Linked DNA regions of Homo sapiens: regions 1, 2, 3, 5, 6 and 7 are each linked to region 4. Evidence: promoter capture Hi-C in 16 types of primary human blood cells and fetal thymus (Javierre and others, 2016). All regions are on one chromosome and are shown on one strand. Each heading gives the region's core, a stretch centred on a gene start or on the middle of the fragment in contact. The rest is flanking DNA. Distances are from core to core; before and after follow the strand shown.

Region 1 (2,700 bases), core at 135-2,634, 610 kb after region 4:
TGACCAACTTTAGCTTTTCAAAATCTGTCTTCGTAGACGATAATGGAAATATCTACCAAAGCTAAATATTCACCTACCCCATGACCCAGCAATTTTACTCCTAGGTATATATACCAAAAAAAATGAGTGTTCTGTGTCCACTAGAGATATGTGCCAAAGTGTTCATAATAGATCCAAACTGGAAACAGCTCAAATGTCCATCAATAGCAGAAAGATAAACAAATGTTGGGATGTTCAGAGCTTGAAATATGACACAATATAAAAGGACAAACTATTAAAACTCACAACAGCATGGATAAATCTTACAGACATAATTATTGAGCAAAAGATACCAGAAACACAAAAGTATATACTGTCTGATTCCTTTAAATAAAGGTTAAGATGATTCTCCCTCCTGCAGCCTTGTGAAGAAGGTGCCTTTCTTCCCCTTCGCCTTCTGCCATGATTGTAAGTTTCCTGAGGCCTCCCCAGCCATGTTGAATTCTCATTGTCCCTGATAAAATAGCACCCTCTCTTCCTCTGCTCTTCCACCCTTTTCCTCTTCCGCTGTGCAACTGAAGACTGGGAAAGAATGACATGCAAAATAAGAGGTTTTGGATTCAGCGTAGGACTAACTACTGGATGCTACTTACAGAAAACTTTATATTTGTGCTGAAAAATCTTGTTATCTAGGTGAAAGCCAATGCTATCCTAATGACAAAATTGTTGGGGAAATAAATTTATAAGAGACTTTATTTAAAGAAATAAAAGAAAAAATAATAAAGCTTAAGACAAAAAACTAATCCATTTTGGTAGACATCAGCACTTACCTCTGAGAAGGAAAATGGTTACTGATGGGGAAGTGGGAGGCATAAGGGAATCTTCTGGGTGATGAAAATGTTCTATTTCTTGATCTGAATTGTAGTTACTTGGGTTTAGACATATGCTTAAAAATCGTCAAGTTATGTGTTTAAAACATGTGCACCTTACAGTATATAAGCCACACTTCAATTTTTTTAAAGGTCCCCACAACATTGTTGTTTTCAAGGAAGTACAGGAAATATCTTTTACTCTGTGTTAATTCAGGGAAGTTATCTCCATAAGTGCTTTACAAAATAATCTTCATAATATAGTAGCACCATTAAGTAGGCATTATTATCTCTGTATCACAAATGCACAATATGAGAGTCAGAGAGGTTAAGTTATTTTCCAAAGTCACACAGCTAATCAATGGCAAAGTTAGGATTTTTTTTTTCTTTTTTGAGACAGAGTCTTGCTCTGTCACCCAGGCTGGAGTGCAGTGGTGTGATTTCAGCTCACTGCAACCTTCGCCTCCCAGCTTCAAGCGATTCTCATGCCTCAGCCTCCCAGGTAGCTGGGATTTCAGGTGTGCAACCACCACACCCAGTTAATTTTTGTATTTTTGGTAGAGATAGGGTTTCACATGTTGGCCAAGCTGGTCTTGAACTCTTGACCTCAAGTGATCCACCTGTCTCAGCCTTCCCAAGTGCTGGGATTACAGGTGTGAGCCATCACACTCGGCCAAAGCTAGGATTTGAATATAAGTTTGTCTGACCCTCAAAACCCATGCTCCTTCCTCTGTGTTAGCCAACTTCCTGCATAGCCAACTTCCCAGGGTCATGGAAAGAATCATTAACGCAACCCAGGAATGCTCTCCCGGAGTGTGGCTATATCTAGAGAAATTGTGGAAAGAGGCCAGGCACGGTGGCTCACTCCTGTAATTCCAGCACTTTGGGAGGCCAAGGTGGGAGAATCATCTGAGGCCAAGAGTTCAAGACCAACTTGGACAACATAGTGAGAACCCTTTCTCTATTCAAAAAAAAGAAAGAAAGAAAGAATTTGCCTAAATAGAACAGAAAAGGCTGTATGTGCAAGACAGTTACTGCAGGTTTTATAATAGTAAAAAGCTAGAAAAAAACTAATTATTCAACAGTACATAATTAAGCAAATTAAAATACATATATTCAATAGGATATTAAGCAGCCATTAAAAGTCATACTTAAGAAAGCTTATGATATAATTTTCACTGAGGTAAAACTGAATAAAAGTTGCATGTACTTTAAGAATACAACCACGAAAAACAAAGCTTTTTAAACTTATGCACAGAGAAAGGAAAGGCCAGAAAGTGTTTGTATGTAAAGACCATTAGTATGTGTTGTCTGTGATTTTTTTCAGCTGTGTTTTGTAGCTTTTCCTTGTAGAGGTCTTTCACCTCCTTGGTTAGGTATATTCCTAAGTATCTTTTTTTTTGCAGCTATCGTAAAAGGGGTTGCATTATTGATTTGATTCTCAGTTTGGTCGCTGTTGGTGTATAGAAGAGCTACTGATTTGTGTATATTAATTTTGTATCCAGAAAACTTTCCTGAATTCTTTTATCAGTTATAGGAGCTTTCTGGAGGAGTCCTTAGGGTTTTCTAGGTAAACAATCATATCATCAGCAAACAGCGACAGTTTGACTTCTTCTTTACCAATTTGGATGCCCTGTATTTCATTCTCTTGTCTGATTGCTCAGGCCAGGACTTCCAATACTATGTTGAGGAGGAGCTCATGGATAGGTAGAATCAATATTGTGAAAATGACCATACTGCTAAAAGCAATCTACAAATTCAACACAATTCCCATCAAAATACCACCATCATTCTTCACAGAATTAGAGAAAACAATTCTAAAATTCATATGGAACCAAAAAAGAGCCCACAT
Region 2 (2,700 bases), core at 47-2,546, 770 kb after region 4:
AGATAGTCCCAAGGTAGGGGTAAAACTCTCCCTCAGGTCCTTTTTTGATAAATCTGAGAGATTAAAATTGCATAATTGTATAAATTGGGGCAAAAGTAATTACAGTTTTTGCCATTCATTTTAATTCATTCATTCCTTTTAATGGCAAAAACCGCAATTACTTTTGCACCAACCTAATAATTCGTGCCCTTAGAAAACTGTTACATCCATATTTAGAGAGGAGTTTTTCTTTTTTCACTATGGGCAAGAGTTTGAAATGGTGAGAGGACAAAAGAAGACAGATCCAGAATACAGCAGATGAGAGAGGCAATTTTGGAGTAACCAGCTGTCACTTGTTAGGCAGTCTGTGTTACTAGGAAAGAACTTTTGGAAATATTAGGGTTACAGTTTTGAGAAATAGTTGCAAGGTCCAAGTGTGGACAATAATTATGCACTTCAGTGTATTGATGAAGAAAGGTTCTGATTAGGTCATATGTGTCTGACAGGCTAAAAAGCAGTCTTCTCAATAAAGAGAAAGCCAACCTTTGGGAAAAAAAATGAGAACAAAGTCTAAAAGCAAATTTGTTTTTCCTAATTCCTGCTAAAGGGAAGAACAGTACTGTCCATTACATGCTCATGTTGGAGAAACTGTGCCGTATCTCCTCATGTATTTATAAACATTATTTGATTACGTTCTTGGACAATTTTTCTATTTTTTGAAAATTTCTCTGGACCTATTATTCCTTTCTGAGCATTTTGCTTTCCTCTTTTTCTTTTGTTACTTTAACTTCATTAAAATTTTTTTTTTAAATAGTGATGGGATCTCTCTGTGTTGCCCAGGCTGGTCTCGAACTCCTGGGCTGAAGCGAGCCTCTCACCTCAGCCTCCCAAAGTGCTGAGATTACAGGTGTGAGCCACCATGCCTGGCCTAACTTCATTTTGTGGTACTTTTTTTTCTTGTATATTAGCCTTCATTGAATGAAAACTTTGAGTCCCCTCTCCTTCACAGATCTTTTCCCATAGACCTTGATTAGGCCTTTTTTTTTTTTTTTTTTTTGGACATCACCTGAGATGATTATAAGCCCCCAAACCACAATGCAGTAAAAAACCCCAAATCACTAAATCCCTTCTTTGGAAATACTTCCCAGGTAAGAGGAAGGCAGAAATGCTGCAAATCTTCATAAAACATAAATTATGTAGACTCTTCAGTGATCAAGCACTTGATGAATACAGAATAAAACAGTCATCAAAGACCTAGAAAACCAAGAGTTTTATTAACAACAGATTAGAAAGGAAGGATGTGATGATGAAAAGAAACTCTGATTTCAAGTCAGAAGTCTGAGTCCTGGCACTGCCTTTTAGAGACCACTTAATCTTGGGAGAAGTCACTTTATCTCTCCAGGTTCTGTTTCCTTACCTATAAAATAAAATGATTGAATCAGAAAAGAGATGGTAGATAAGTTTCTCTTTTGGTACTAAGCCTGATAAATTGCTAGTGATTTTCTGGAGAATTTGTTGAGAATACCAGGCTTGGTAGCAAAGAGTAATGTGATTAGTGGTGTCCACCATGGGGGTGGGGTCAGGGAGTGGTGGTGTTCATGTCCTGAATTTTCTGTGTCTGAATTAGATGATCTCACCTCCTTTCCACCTGAGATGTTCTGCTCTCTCTTGTATGTACTTAATATGGGACACTTGTTTGGGGTGTTAAAAATATAGCTCTTTGCTTTTGTCAAAGCTATCCTTTTTAAACATCAGCCTGTTAGGACAGTATGTTTTTCAAGATTAGTTTCACAGTCAGAAATGAAGATATTTTGGCAGCAATTTCTGGAAAATTATTGCAAATTAAAAGATGGCTACCAAAATTCTTAAAATTTAATCTGTAATAAACATAAAACATGTAGTGGGTTTGAAGTAAAAAGGGGTATAAGATGTCCGCATGTCAATTTCAAATGAGAGCTTATGGGATATGGGTATTATGATAGACTTTGCTGCTGTGGTAGAAGCTGGTTGCTGGAGCAGAAGAAGGTACTGGGGACTTTGTGTGTGTGCTGAAATCCAATAGAACACAATCCTTAGGGAGTTACAGAAATGCAAGTACTCTGTCTTATTTAATCTTTCTTTCCTGGCCTGATACCTGGAACATAGTAGGCACAAAATAAATGTTGACATGGACGTCTCGGTCTCCATTTAACTAGTTTCAGTCTCATGTTACAGAAGACATTTGCGTATAGATAAAATTAAAAATTGGAAATTGCAGAGATTTTGTGCTTTCCCTCATTTCTATACAGTACTTCATCACATTAAATCAGTTCCATGGGAGAAATTTTCTATTTGAAAATGCCTCTCATCATCATTGTGAGTGAAATGTCAGGGATAATGATGGGAAAATGGTGTATCAGCTCTACTACTAGTGATAGGCAATTTGCAAAATTGTGTTTGCTTTACAGCACTTCCATAGGAGGTTTATTTGTGTGGCTGAAGCTATGAAATATGGATATATGTTAGAGGTACATTAATTTACTCTAGCAGCATGCATTTTACATACCATATGTTTATAGTTAATTAGCACAACAAACCCGCATTTAAAAATAATAATAATCTCAATTAGGTTATGCAAAGTCAAGCAATCAACCACCTTCCTGACACATACATTCGCTGACTCCTTGGGTAACCATAAAGAAATTGTTCTTTTTTTTTCCCTCTCTTCCATCTGCTATCTAG
Region 3 (2,700 bases), core at 35-2,534, 810 kb after region 4:
GTATATTTTGAAATAAGGCATATATCTTTTTTTTGAGCAGTGAGATTAACATTTTACAGTTTACCAAGAATATTGTATATTTATTTATTTAATATCTTGGCAAGGTGTTGGTGATTTTACACAAGAGGATACAGAAGTTCAGAATCAGTTATATGGCTGGCCCAAAGTTACTAAGTGTCGGAGCCAAGACTTCATCCTAGATTTTCAAATCTCATGCTTTTTCTATCCATAGCTACTTCATTGAAGCATTTTACAAGTGGATGCTGGGCGTTTGATTTATTTTGTTTGATTTTTGGTTTTTTGTTTTTTCGAGATGGAGTCTTGCCGAGGCTGGAGTGCAGTGATGTGATCTCGGCTCACTGCAACCTCCGCCTCCCGGGTTCAAGCGATTCTCCTGCCTCAGCCTCTCAAGTAGCTGGGATTACAGGCGCAAACCACTACGCCTGGCTAATTTTTGTATTTTTAGTAGAGACGGGGTTTCACCGTGTTGGCCAGACTGGCCTCAAGCTCCTGACCGCAAGTGATCCACCTGCCTCGGCCTCCCAAAGTGCTGGGATTACAGGCATGAGCCACCACACCTGGTGGTGTTTGGTTTAAATTTTGGTATATTCCTTTATGCTGAGTCCCTGGCCCTAACTACATCACCCCTCCCTTGGACCACTGTAGCACCCTCTGGACTAGTTGGGCTCTTTCAGTACACACTGTCCTTTGAATGTATTTTCCCCAGTAGAGCTAAACATATTTCTCTCTTAAAAACTTCTAATGCCTTCCGTTAGAATGGAGACCTTTGTGTGGCCTTTAGCATACCTGCCTCTCTGCCTCGCCCACACTGATGGCCATTTAGTTTCTCCAACTTGACATTTTGTCTCCTGCCTAGGGCTTTTGCATATTCCTCTTGTCCCAACTTGTTCTTCACATGCATTCTTCAGCTCTCAGCTCATTCATTCCTTCAGAAAAGCCTTTCTGAATCCCAGATTAGCTCAGGTTCTTCTGTTATACCTGCACCCCATGTGTTTCCTTCAAGGCATTTATAGTAGTTGGAATGGTACACTGTATGACTATGCGATCATGACTGTCTTCCCTGTTATACTGTCAATGCCATGAGACCCTTTGATTGTGTTCACCGTTATGTCCCCAGTATATAGCACGGTACCTGACCCAAAATGGGAACTTAAGAAATATTTATTGAACATTGACTGTGTAGTAGTTGGGTGAACAAGATGGCTGTACAACTGTCTTAAAAGGGTCAGGACTAACTGTGGAACACAATTTGATCATCTTACAAAATTTGATCTTGTCATTTGTTTATCTCTGTAGTCACATTGACCAGATGGTTCTGCTGCAGTTTTTAGGAACAGTTTTGAGAAATAATTATTTCTCATGGAAACAAAATGAAAGTTACTTTCAGTTTTTATTTCTGAAAATTTAGAAATATTCAGGCAAGTTAGTCACTTGATGATCGTCATGATACTAATTTATTTCTGCTCTGTTTGGATAGTGGCTCGGAGTCTTTATTATACCATTTGAGTGAATTGAAAGGAATGGCTTCATGGAAGCAAAAATATGAACCTCTTGGACTAGATGCTGCAGGAATCGAAGGTAGTGATTTAATTTCTCAGTGAAATACATTAAACACAGTTTACTTATTTGACAAATGACGTTTATTTATTTTTTCCCTTTAGAAGCTATAACTGCTGTGGGTTCTTTTATACTCAAGGCAAATGAACTTCTTCAGTAAGTATTGGGAGTACCTGGAATCACTGACCTAAGAATATGTCACTTTTGACCTAAATAAGAACCTAGTAAGCTGTTATGATTCTCTTAAAATCAGTTTTTAAATTTTTATCACAATTATGCCTTTATATGGTTCCGAAAAGCCAGCAGCACAGAGAATTTATAAAGTAAAGCTGTATTTTCCTGTCCTGGTCATCCTTACCTCAGGTCTTCTCGCCAGAGGGAATCATTTTAACTCTTTAACTACTTCTATTTTTAGTTCTTCTATGGGTTACCTCCATATTTCTAAATTGTATGACTATGCCACATTTCTTTTGTCAATTTTTAGAAGTTATTCTCTTTGTTTTGTTTTTCTTAGACTGTTAGGCTTGCTTGTTTTCTTGCATTGTCTGTTTTTTCTGCATCCTTCCGTCCTTTCCCTTCTGAAGGGTGGTGTAGTACCTCTGGAGTCCCCTGTTCCAGATGCCTTCCTTAGCCTCCCACCCCTCTGCTTCAGCCTGCAGCTGTGGTCCAGTTCTCCTGCACGGCTACCACCCGGGCATTTTCTTCATTACTCTCCTGGGTTAGACCCAGAACTGCCAGGATTGCCTTTGTTTCTTGGCTTATTTAATCATTTTGCTGGAAAACATCCTCTAGTAACTTTCTCAAAAAGCAGACATAGAAGGTAAACTTTATCTCCTTTTGTGTTTTTTCTCCTACCCTCACACTTAATTGACAGCTGGCTTTAGGATTCCCTGAGGGTTATTGGTTTTCACATAGAACTTCAAAAGCAGAGTTCCATAGGATTCTGTGCTTTTTGTTGCTGATGGAAGGTCTGGTGCTTCTAATTCTTAGCCCTTTATAGTTTTTTTTTTTTTTCGTTTTGAAAAAGCTGTAAAAGCATTACTCTTTATTCTTGATATGTTGAAATTTCATAACAGTGTTTTTGGGTGTGGGCCTTTTAATTCATTGTGCTATAATAAGCCA
Region 4 (2,700 bases), core at 162-2,661:
TAAAATGATACAATTATGCAAAGTATTTGGCTACTCGGGCTTTTGTGGGTTTTGCCTGAATTATCCAAACAGGTCTTTGTACTTCATCAATGAAAACACACAAGGGACAAGAAATGATTTTCACGAAATTGCTTAAATTAACTGCTAAATTCCTCTGTACCTTTAAGGAAAGGAATCTGGAACACCAAGAGTTTGTGTAAGTATTTCAACTCTCAACCTCCACATGGGCGGTGTTTCGCCATAAATACTAAAAACACGTTTTGAACATGATCCCTGTATTTCAAAAGCTACTTATGAAGAAAAGTGGGACATGCATAGAAAATAAATGATGAAAAAAAAAAACAATGCCTTCTAATCCCTCCCCATGGGACGATGTTCAGTAACCAGTTTTAACCAAAGCAGGAAATACAGGAGATGGCGGGAGCGTAGGCAGAGAGCGGAAGTTTGCTAGTATCTACTTTGAAGTGTTTGAATGGACCAAGGCACGCTCTCTCCCGCCAAACTATAAACTCAGTCGCCCCAAAACACCAGCCTTCCAGCCCATCAGGTATATTACTCCACGTTTTCCTTTCTCCCGGCAGGTCCTCTACTCCCACCTCCCCCGAGAACTCCCTATTTGCTGGCTTCTCTCAACTCCCGCCACCCCCATCCCAGCCTACATTATGATCCACGCGCTGCTCTCACTTTCCGCCCTCCGCCTTTCCCGTCTGGAGTGCCTGGCCGCGCCCCCACCCAGGCCCTCCCCACGGCCCCTCTGGCTGGGAAGTGCCTGCTGCCCTTGGAAGCGAATACTCCCACCGCGCCCTCCCCCACCCTCTCCTCCGGCTCCAGGCCTTCCTCGGGAACCGAGGCCACGAGGTCCGCGGTTCACTCCCGCCCGACGCCCTCGCAAATGACTCCCGCTCGGTTCGGCCTGGGGGAGGAGGCGCCCTCATGGCTACTGCAGGCCTCTCCACCCTCCGGACTGGGCTGGGCAGCGGCCCCGTCGCACGCAACCCCCCGCGCCCTTGCCGGGCCGAACGGGCGCCGCGCTTCTCCTACCCGCCGCTAGTGAACCCAGCCCAGAGAGAAACAAAGGCTCGGGCTCCAGGACCCGCTCGGCCAGGCCAGCCCCGGCCCGCTCCCTGCCAGGACCCCAACAAAGCCCGAGCTGCCGCCTCGCGCCCCCGGCCTGGCTTACCCATCGGTCCCCGCACGCTTCTTGCCAGAGGGGTAATCCTCCCCTAGGTCCAACCGGTGCCGCTTGGACATCCTCGCACTCTTCGAACGGGCAGTTATTAAGGAAGAAAGCTGGCTGCTGTATGGGCACAGTCGAGGACAGCCACTTAACTCTGGAGGACCCCCACCCCTCCCGCTACTACAGCCCACACGGTGCGGCCGGAACCAACAGCTAAAATGGCGGCGGCGACGAGGGCTGGGCCTGCGCGCGCGCGCGCTTCCGCAGCGTGCGTGCGTGCGAGTGTGCGTGTGAGCGAGGTGCGCGCGCACGACGCCCAAAGGCGGGAACTCCTGTCCCGCCCGCTGCCTCATTGGTCCGACCTTTCTTGGGTCTCCTCCCTCTTCCTGTAGCTTTCCCCTCCTCGGAGCGGCTGTTAGGAAGAACCTGAAGGCCTTCACTTTCCATTTCAGGCTATCCTTGCCCCTCTGAGTCAAGAAATTGAGAAAGTCTAGTCCTAGTTAGGAAATCCTATTCATTTCTATTACCCCGGCTTTAAGGGAATCTCAGACCCAGAGAGGTTGAGAAACGAATGAAGATCGTACAGCTAATAAGTGGCAGAGCCGGGATTGGAACCCAGCTATTTAGTAACTCCAGATCTGGAACTTGCGGCCACTGCGCTACCCTCAGTTGCAGTGAGGGGCCGCGCGATGGTTCACGCCTGTAATCCCAACGCTTTGGGAGACCGAGGCGGGTGGATCACGAGGTCAGGAGTTCGAGACCAGCCTGGCCAACACGGTGAAACCCCGTCTCTACTAAAAATACAAAAATTAGCTGGGCGTGGTGGCGTACGCCTGTAATCCCAGCTACTCGGTAGGCTGAGGCAGGAGAATCGCTTGAACCTGGGAGGCGGAGGTTGCGGTGAGACGAGATCACACCAGTGCACTCCAGCCTGGACGACAGAACAAGACTCCGACTTGAAAGAAAAAAAAAAATCAATTGCAGTGAGGAAACTGAAGTGAGAAAATGTTAAGGCTTGTCATGATCTATTTTGCCCTTTTCTTGCCCAGCACGGACACCATGCACCCAAGCTATAGATGTTTTTAACTAGAATACAGAGAATTCGCAGTGAGGGCACAATTTGCTTTTTTGTTTTTTGTTTTTCTGTGCCTATTAATGCACTTTCGCAGTGTTAAATAACACCCTGCAAGGTAGTTGTTATTTTGTAGACGTAGACGCAAAGGCTGAGGAAGGTTACATCTCCTAGCCATAAGGGCTGTACCTAAAGCCATAACAAGGAGGTGGGGCAAGATGACTCTAAGGATTTTTGTGGATCTCTCCCCCTAGAATATGTCTGCTTCCTCAGTTGCATTTGTTCCCAGAAGAAATGCACAAGAAAAGATCTGTGGACCATCTGCAGCAGGGTGATCTCTGTTGTTCATGGAATGGCTTGGTTTGGCTGCCCTGGAAGACCATACTCTGGTTCTTATCCAAATCTCAGGACTGCAATTGCTAGGATTAAATGCAACTTAAATATTGCAACT
Region 5 (2,700 bases), core at 148-2,647, 690 kb after region 4:
ATTTCTGACATGAACTTTGTGCAAGATTTATGTGAAGATCTCTATGAACTTTTTAAGGTAAGTTAATGCTTAGTTTGATTATTGCAGAAAATGAAATCTTAAAATAGAAGAGACTGCTTAATAGAGCTGATTTGCAATTTTCTATTTCTTGTATTGCTGCTTGCCATAAAACCTGACAGGACAGAGAGGAATTAGCAGTTTTATTTACAGGAGCATAGATTCATAAAGCTATACTTACTGTGAGCATTCTTTGAAGTGAGACTACATTAAAACTTAATTTGCTGTTTTCTTCAAAAGTTGAATTTTTACAAGAAGACTCTATAAATTATAATACATATTTGGTGACCTGCTATGTTTTAGTTCTCTTAAAAAGCCTAAATTCATTGGCTGGAAAGTCATGTTAAATCCTTTCTGGAACAAGTTCAGGTCCAAATAAATAAGTCTATTCGTGTCATTCTGGGAGTATACAAAAATACCTCAGGTAAAAATACTATTTTTGTTTTATTTTATCAATTAGGAAAGCTTTTTAATGGCCTTATTTGCTGAGTTGAAGAGTTCATCTGTTTTCAAATATTTATATCAAAGTCTTTATTTTGGGAATTGTTTTTTTCCTTTCTATAATAGACTGACAAAGGATTTGACAAAGCCACTTTTGAAAGTCAGATGTCTGTGATGAGGGGTCAGGTAAGTTACCTTTTTATTTGTTCATAAGGAAAAAAATCTCTTTGAAACAGTAGTCAACTGTTTTCCCCACTGTGATCTGGAGATGGAATTTTTAATACTACCTCTTATGCTGAACCAAAATAGCCCAGATTATTAGAAATGAAGTTGATTCGGCCGACTGCAGTGGCTCACGCCTGTAATCCCAGTGCTTTGGGAGGCCAAGGCGGGTGAATCACCTGAGGTCAGGAGTTCGAGACCAGCCTGGCCAACATGGTGAAACCCCATCTCTACTAAAAATACAAAAAAATTAGCTGGGTGTGGTGGCGGGCACCTGTAATCACAGCTACTTGGGAGGCTGCAGCAGGAGAATCGCTTGAACTCGGGAGGCAGAGGTTGCAGTGAGCTGAGATCACGCCACTGCACTCCAGCCTGAGCAACAAGAGCAAAACTCCATCTCAAAAAAAAAAAAAGAAATGAAGTTGATTCAAATAGTTTCTTCCCTCTATTATCTTATAAATTAGGTGGGTTTTTTTTGTTTTTGTTTTTTTTGAGACAGAGTCTCGCTCTGTAGCCCAGGCTGGAGTGCAGTGGAACGATCTCGGCTCACTGCAAGCTCCGCCTCCCAGGTTCATGCCATTCTCCTGCCTCAGCCTCCCGAGTAGCTGGGACTACAGGCGCCCACCACCACACCCGGCTGATTTTTTTCTATATTTTTAGTAGAGACGGGGTTTCACCATGTTAGCCAGGATGGTCTCGATCTCCTGACCTCGTGATCTGCCCGCCTCAGCCTCCCAAAGTGCTGGCATCACAGGCGTGAGCCACCGCGCCCAGCCTAACTTAGGTATTTTTGACCTTGTTGTATACTGTTTATTTAGCTCAGTGTTTCCCCTGCTATGAATTGTTTGTCCCCATTTTGATAGCTATTTTCTTGGGCATCACTACCTTTTTCCCTCTCAGATTCACTCACTTAGACATTTCAGTACCAAGTTCTGTTGTCAATAGATTACTTTTTTTCTTTTTTCGCGGAATGTGGCTTTTGCTAGAGCAGTCACTAAATAACCATGTCACCAAGATTGAGTATCAATTGTGACATGAAAAAACTAATTGTAACTCAGTCCTCTCCCTGACCCCCCTTTCCTCTTGTTTTTTTGGTTTTTTTTCTTTTTTTCTTTTCTTTTTTTGAGACAGACTCTTGCCCTGTCGCCCAGGCTGGAGTGCAATGGTGCGATCTCAGCTCACTTCAACCTCTGTCTCCCAGGTTCAAGCGATTCTCCTGCCTCAGCCTCCCAAGTAGTTGGGATTACAGGTGTGCATCACCACACCCAGCTAATTTTTTTGTATCTTTAGTAGAGATGGGATTTCACCATGTCGGCCAGGCTGGTCTTGAACTCCTGACCTTGTGATCCAGCCGCCTTGGCCTCCCAAAGTGCTAGGATTACAGGTGTGTGCCACCGTGCCCAGCCCCTCCTCACCTTTAGTTAAAGGTTAGAAGTACAAGGCATTAAGTCTGCTGATGTGGATCTGCAGGCTGGGCTCACTGCAGGCTGGGCTCACTGTTAGATGACTTCTGCTTCTTGGACTCTATGAATGGTATTTCTATTCCAAAAGGAAAGCTTGAAATATAAATAAATTATACTGTAAACATTGTCTTTTAGCGTCTTATAAATTAACATTCTCTTCCTAAAATATACATTTAAGGTAGCTGTTTGCCACAATACCTGTAGCAAAGAAGTACAAGTCCATATAATTACACAGAGAATCATTCATTCATTCACCAAATGTTTATTGACAGAACTAGTGCTGGCAACTAGTCACTGGAGATAAAGCAGTAAGCAAAACCAAGCTTCTGCTGTCATGGAGTTTTGCTCTGCAGAGAAGGCCAGGGCTCGGTGAAAAGGGACAGGTGATTTTAGATTATTAGCTCACGCATCTCTCTGCTCCATCACATTTATGCAGTGCTTAATGCAGTCATGAGTTTTAAGTAGTTAAGTGAAGGCTCGAGAAATAGAATGGAGCCAGAGTATAGAGGGCCTTAAA
Region 6 (2,700 bases), core at 93-2,592, 740 kb after region 4:
ACTGCACTCCAGCCTGGGCGACAGGGAGACTCCGTCTCAAAAAAAAAAAAAAAAAAAAAAGAAATATTTTCTGCCATTCTTGGGTCGTCTTTTCACTCTCTCTTTTTTTTTTTTTTGGCAGTGGTGCCATCTCGGCTCACTGCAACCTCTGTCTCCTGAGTTCAAGTGATTCTCGTGCCTCAGCCTCCTGAGTGGCTGGGATTACAGGCGTGTGCCACCACACCCGGCTAATTTTTTTTTAGTAGAGATGGTGTTTCACCATGTTGGCCAGGCTGATCTCGAACTCCTGACTTCAAGGGCTCTGCCTGCCTCAGCCTCCCAAAGTACTGGGATTATAGGCGTGAGCCACTGTGCTGTCTTTTCACTTTCTTAATGGTATCCTTTGCTGTGCAAAAGTTTAAAATTTTTTATTAAGTTCAATTTATTTTTTGTCACTTAAGAGTATCTTTTGAAGAAAAAAATGTTAAGTCATGACGAAGTTCATTTTATTGATTCTTACACTTTGTGCTTAGTCTTATTTAAGAAATCTTTGCCAAACCCAGTCATTATTATTTTCTAATATGTTTTCTTTAAAGTTTTCTAGTTTTAGTTCCTAGAGTTAGGTCTATGATCTATTCGGGGTTAGTTTTTTTATATGAAGTGAGGTAAGAGTCAAGGTTCATTGCTTTGCATATGGCTTTCAGACTTTTCCAGCACCTTATCTGCTGTGGGATTAGAGAGAAAAAAAAATACTTTTCCAGCACCATTTGTTGATAATATTATCCTTTCCTTGTTGAATTGATTTGGCACCTGCATTAGTTTTCCTGTTGCTGCTGGAGCAACTTACCACAAGCTTAGTGGTATACAACGACATAGATTTATTCTTCCAGTAATGGAGGCCCAACATCCAAAATCAACTAAAGCAGGTTAAAGTTAAGCTGTTGGTGGGGCTAGTTCCTTCTGAAGACTCTGAGAAGAGAATTTGTTTCTTGCTTTTTCCAGCGTCTGGGACCACCTGCATCTTTGGCTGTGGCCCGTGCTCCGTTTTTATAGCACATCACTCCAGTCTCTGCTTCTGTCACCACATAATCTTCTCCCTCACTCCACTGCCTCTGGCTTATAAGAACCCTTGTAATTATGTTGAGTCTACCCAGATGACCCAGGATAACCTCCTCATCTTAAGATCCGTCACTTCATGACATCTGTAAATTCTCTTTGGTCCTATATGTGTATTCACAGGTTCCATATTCTCTTTGGTAGGATGTGGGGAGTGAGGGGGCATCATTCAGCCTACTGCAGCACCTTTCTCAAAAGTCAGTTAACTTTATATGTGTTTTTTTTTCTGGACTATTTTTTTCCCTTGACCTATAGGTATATCTTTACATAAATACCACATTGTCTTGATTACTGTGACTTTATAATGTCTTCTTGAAATTGGGTAGTGTAAGTCTTCTTTGTCCATTATTTTCAAAGTTGTTTCCGCTATTATAGGTCCTTTTTATTTTCATATGAATTTTTTGAATGAGGTTTTCAGTTTCTACAAAAAATCCTGCTGGGATTTTGATTGAGAGTGTGTTGATTTTATAGATACATTTGGGGAGAATTGACATCTTAATAGTATTGAGTTTTCTAGTCTGTGACTGTGGTGTATCTCTTCAGTTACTAAGTCATCTTTAATTTTTCTTGGTGATGTTTTGTAATTTTCAGTGCACTGCAGTTACACATCTTTTGTCAGATTTATCACGAAGTATTTCATGTATTTTAATGTGGTTTTAAATTGTATTGTTTTAAAATTTCAGTTTCTAATTGTCTATTGCTAGACTCTAACAATACAGTTGATTTTATATATTGATCTTTTATTTTGAAATCTTGATAAGCTTACTTACTAGTTCTAGCAGGCTTTTTGAAGATTTCCTTAGGATTTTGTACATGTGTGATCATGTTGTCTGTGAATAAAGAAGTTTTAATGTTTACTTTCCAATTTATGTCTTTTGTTTTTTTATCTTGTCTTATCAAACTGGCTAGAAACCCTTAGTCAATGTCGAGTAGAAGGCTGAGAGCAGACATCTTTGCTTTGTCCCAGTCTTGGGGAAATGCATTCAGTCTTTCAGCTGTATGGTGTTAGCAATAGGTTTTTCTTTGATGCCCTTTATCAGATTGTAGAAGTGCCCTTCTATTTCTGGTTTTTTGAGAATCTCCCTCCCTCCCTCCCTCCCTCCTTCCCTCCTTCCCTCCTTCCCTCCTTCCCTCCTTCCTTCCGTTCCTTCCTTACTTGCTTCGTCCCCCACCACCCTTCCTTCCTTTCTTTTCTTTCTTTTTCTCTGTCTTGCTCTGTCACCCAGATTGGAGGGCAGTGGGACGATCATGGCTCACTGTAGACTCTACCTCCTTGGTTCAAGTGATCCTCCCACCTCAGCCTCCCCAGTAGCTGGGACTATAGGTGTGTACTACCACACCCAGCTAATTTTTTTACTTTTTGAAGAGATGAGGATCTTACTGTGTTGCCCAGGCAGGTCTCAAACTCCTGGGCTCAAGCCGTCCTCCTGCCTCAGGCTTCCTAGAGTGCTGGGATTAGAGGCATGAGCCACCATACCCAGCCTGAGAATCTTTATCATCAGTGGATGTTTGATTTTGTCAAGTGCGTTTTTGGGGGGCACCTAATGAAATTATCTTTTTTTCAAAAAAGCCTGTTAATATGAATTACATTGATTGAATTCAAAC
Region 7 (2,700 bases), core at 69-2,568, 650 kb after region 4:
GCGAGAGGTCAACGAGATGGCAGGCCTGTAATCCCATCCCAGCATTTTGGGAGGTCTAGGCAGGAGAATAGCTTGAGGCTGGAAGTTCGAGACCCACCTGGGCAACATAGCGAGATCCCCATCTCTATAAAAAATAAACAACAACAACAACAAAAATTCAAAGTGAGGATAGAGTATAGTGTTAGAATACAAATGGATTCTTAGAATTCCTACCTTTTTTAAAGGTAATATCTTACCTGTATCACAGTTTACAATTTGCTAAGATCTTTTTTAAAAAAATATTTTATTCTCCACTGCACTCCAGCCTGGTTCTGTCTTGAGACAGAGCAAGACTCTGTCTCAAAAATAAATAAATAAATAAATAAATAAATAAATAAATAAATAAATAAATAAATTTTATTCTCTGTTGGGTGCCATGGCTCATGCCTGTAATCCCAGCATTTTGGAAGGCCTAGGTGGGTGGATCATTTGAGGTCAGGAGTTTTCAGACCAGCCTGGCCAACATGGTGAAACCCTGCCTCTACTAAAAATAGAAAAATTAGCCAGGCATGGTGGCGGGCGCCTGCAATTCCAGCTACTTGGGAGGCTGAGGCAGGAGAATCGCTTCTGAACCCGAGAGGTGTAGGTTGCAGTGAGCAGAGATGGCTCCACTGCACTCCAGCCTGGGTGACAGAGTGAGACTTTGTCTCAAAAAAAAAATTAATTATTTTCACAACAGCACAGCAAGTTAGTTGTTATTCGCCATTATTCTCATTATGAGGATTCAGAATTAATAAACTGGTAATGACTGGTAGCTCAGGTCTTCAGAGGTAAATGGTTTGCCCGAAGTCAAATATCCAGGAAGTAATAAATCAGGAGGAAGCCTGGTTCTTTCTTCATCTTCTGCCCCTTTTCCGTTTTGCCATGGGTCCACAAGTGTTATAAAATAATTGTGTCTGTGGTTATTTTGGAGGTTTTTACCTTTAATAGGACTTTAAAATAGTTTCTGTGAAAACTGTTTAAAAAATTTTTAAAGACTAAAATGTTCATGATTGAGTAATTTAATACTTTTTAAGTTTAGTTATTTTTTAAATGACTCCATTAACTTCATTTGTCCTTTACCATCCGATTTCCATGAAACTACCTCACTAGTTCCAAGAAATTCTTGCCTTTAGATTAATATGAACATCATTTATGATGCTTAACTCTTACTTATATAAGCAAGAGGTTTATGTACTTTAGCCAGTGGAAGAATGTCATATGTCTGTTATCTTCAACAAGGCATTTAACAAAGCCTACAAACAGCATAAACCATAGTGTTGTTGGATCAGTGTCAAAGTGGAAGGATTAGTGCATTCCTTGTTCTAGTTATTTTAATCAGTGAATTCGGTAGTAATGACAGCTAATGCCTACATAGCAGTTAATATGCGCTAGGCATAGTTCTGTATGCTTCATATATATTAATTCATAACCAACCCTGTGATGTGAGTACTATTTTTGTTTTTTTTTTTTGTTTTTGGCAGTGGGTGGCTGTAGGGGTGGCAGTGGGGGAACAGAGTTTCATTCCTGTCACCCAGGCTGGATTGTAATGGCGTAATCTCGGCTAACTGCAACCTCCACTCCCCAGGTTCAAGCGATTCTCCTGCCTCACCCTCCCAAGTAGCTGGGATTACAGGCACATGCCTGGCTAATTTTGTATTTTTAGTAGAAACGGGGTTTCACCATGTTGGTCAGGCTGGTCTCGAACTCCTGACCTCAGATGATCCTCCCGCCTCGGCTTCCCAGAGCACTGAGATTACAAGGCCACCATGCCTGGCCTTGTTCTCATTTTAAGAAAGTATAGGGAGAGGCTGGGCATGGTGGCTTACGCCTGTAATCCTAACACTTTGGGAGGCCTCTTTGGTGCACACCTGTAGTCCAAGCTACTCAGGAGACCGAGGCAGGAGGATTGCTTGAGTCCATGAGTTTCAGGTTACACTGAGTCCAGTGAGCTATAATTGCACCACTATACTCCAGCCTGGGTTACAGAAAAAGACCCTGTCTCAAAAGAAAAAAAGAAAAAGCACAAAGAAGTGAAGTGACTTCTCCAAGGTCCCAGTTAATACAAATCAGGAGCGCTTAGCTCCTGTTAGAGAGCCTAACAGTTAGAAAACAGTGTTAGAATTCACAAAGAGCTGCCAAAGTAAAAGAAAATGTGAATTTGTAAGTCATTTAATGATTCATGGTGGTTTATAAATATGTGAACAGAATAAGAAAATCATTTAAAAGGAAGAAAGATGAGAAGATGGAGCCTGGAGTAAGATTACACAAGATGTACCTCAGATGCTTGATGCAGGCAACCCACAGATTTGATTTTTGAAATTACTGAGCAGCTAACTTGAGAGAAACACAATCATGTGGTCTATACAGTTAAAATAAACTGGTTATTTGAACCAAAACAGAACAGACAAAGGGTAGCCTGTCACAGTCTCTTGGTGAATGCTGTATGCTGAACAATATCTGTGATTAAAGTGATTAATTTCATAAAGGTAGTTCTTATAACTTCCCTAAAGTCCATTTCAGCAGAAATGGTTTTAACTACTGGTGCTATTGTGTCCGGAATTGGTGGGTTCTTGGTCTCACTGACTTCAAGAATGAAGCCATGGACCCTCGCGGTTAGTGTTACAGTTCTTAAAGGCGGTGTGTTCGGAGTTTGTTCCTTCTGATGTTCGGATGTGTTCG

The links. Contacts are between HindIII fragments. The CHiCAGO score rates a contact against its expected background, and 5 or more counts as called.
Region 1: a fragment that was not itself captured here is called in contact with the fragment with the promoter of DHX15 in region 4 in 1 of 17 cell types (total B cells); the score reaches 5.0 in total B cells.
Region 2: a fragment that was not itself captured here is called in contact with the fragment with the promoter of DHX15 in region 4 in 2 of 17 cell types (total B cells and total CD8 T cells); the score reaches 6.0 in total B cells.
Region 3: a contact is called between a fragment that was not itself captured here and the fragment with the promoter of DHX15 in region 4, in 1 of 17 cell types (total B cells). The highest score is 5.2, in total B cells.
Region 5: a fragment that was not itself captured here is called in contact with the fragment with the promoter of DHX15 in region 4 in 1 of 17 cell types (fetal thymus); the score reaches 5.8 in fetal thymus.
Region 6: a contact is called between a fragment that was not itself captured here and the fragment with the promoter of DHX15 in region 4, in 2 of 17 cell types (non-activated CD4 T cells and neutrophils). The highest score is 6.8, in non-activated CD4 T cells.
Region 7: a fragment that was not itself captured here is called in contact with the fragment with the promoter of DHX15 in region 4 in 8 of 17 cell types (total B cells, fetal thymus, neutrophils and 5 more); the score reaches 9.0 in total B cells.

Annotation. Positions count from the first base shown.
Region 1 is chr4:25,197,744-25,200,443 of GRCh38, forward strand. SEPSECS-DT (SEPSECS divergent transcript) reads left to right here. Exons shown (of 2, transcript NR_037934.1): 2 at 1-763. All of the region lies in intron 1 of LOC105374535 (a long non-coding RNA gene), which reads right to left. Among named protein-coding and RNA genes, the nearest start is that of PI4K2B, 35 kb to the right of the region's middle. The HindIII fragment of the contact is 1,244 bases long and covers 763-2,006 here.
Region 2 is chr4:25,353,890-25,356,589 of GRCh38, forward strand. The region is part of intron 8 of ZCCHC4 (zinc finger CCHC-type containing 4); the gene reads left to right. Among named protein-coding and RNA genes, the nearest start is that of ANAPC4, 22 kb to the right of the region's middle. The HindIII fragment of the contact is 2,938 bases long and covers 1-2,700 here.
Region 3 is chr4:25,395,166-25,397,865 of GRCh38, forward strand. It overlaps ANAPC4 (anaphase promoting complex subunit 4), which reads left to right. Exons shown (of 29, transcript NM_013367.3): 15 at 1,499-1,599; 16 at 1,683-1,734. Among named protein-coding and RNA genes, the nearest start is that of ANAPC4, 19 kb to the left of the region's middle. The HindIII fragment of the contact is 3,223 bases long and covers 1-2,700 here.
Region 4 is chr4:24,583,143-24,585,842 of GRCh38, forward strand. It overlaps DHX15 (DEAH-box helicase 15), which reads right to left and starts at 1,412. Exons shown (of 14, transcript NM_001358.3): 1 at 1,181-1,412. The coding sequence starts at 1,251. RefSeq lists silencers at 671-720, 921-1,000, 1,011-1,130 and an enhancer at 1,311-1,850. The HindIII fragment of the contact is 7,218 bases long and covers 1-2,700 here.
Region 5 is chr4:25,268,520-25,271,219 of GRCh38, forward strand. It overlaps PI4K2B (phosphatidylinositol 4-kinase type 2 beta), which reads left to right. Exons shown (of 10, transcript NM_018323.4): 8 at 1-57; 9 at 625-684. Among named protein-coding and RNA genes, the nearest start is that of PI4K2B, 36 kb to the left of the region's middle. The HindIII fragment of the contact is 1,754 bases long and covers 521-2,274 here.
Region 6 is chr4:25,325,204-25,327,903 of GRCh38, forward strand. All of the region lies in intron 3 of ZCCHC4 (zinc finger CCHC-type containing 4), which reads left to right. Among named protein-coding and RNA genes, the nearest start is that of ZCCHC4, 14 kb to the left of the region's middle. The HindIII fragment of the contact is 1,024 bases long and covers 831-1,854 here.
Region 7 is chr4:25,235,864-25,238,563 of GRCh38, forward strand. The region is part of intron 1 of PI4K2B (phosphatidylinositol 4-kinase type 2 beta); the gene reads left to right. Among named protein-coding and RNA genes, the nearest start is that of PI4K2B, 3.2 kb to the left of the region's middle. The HindIII fragment of the contact is 3,257 bases long and covers 1-2,700 here.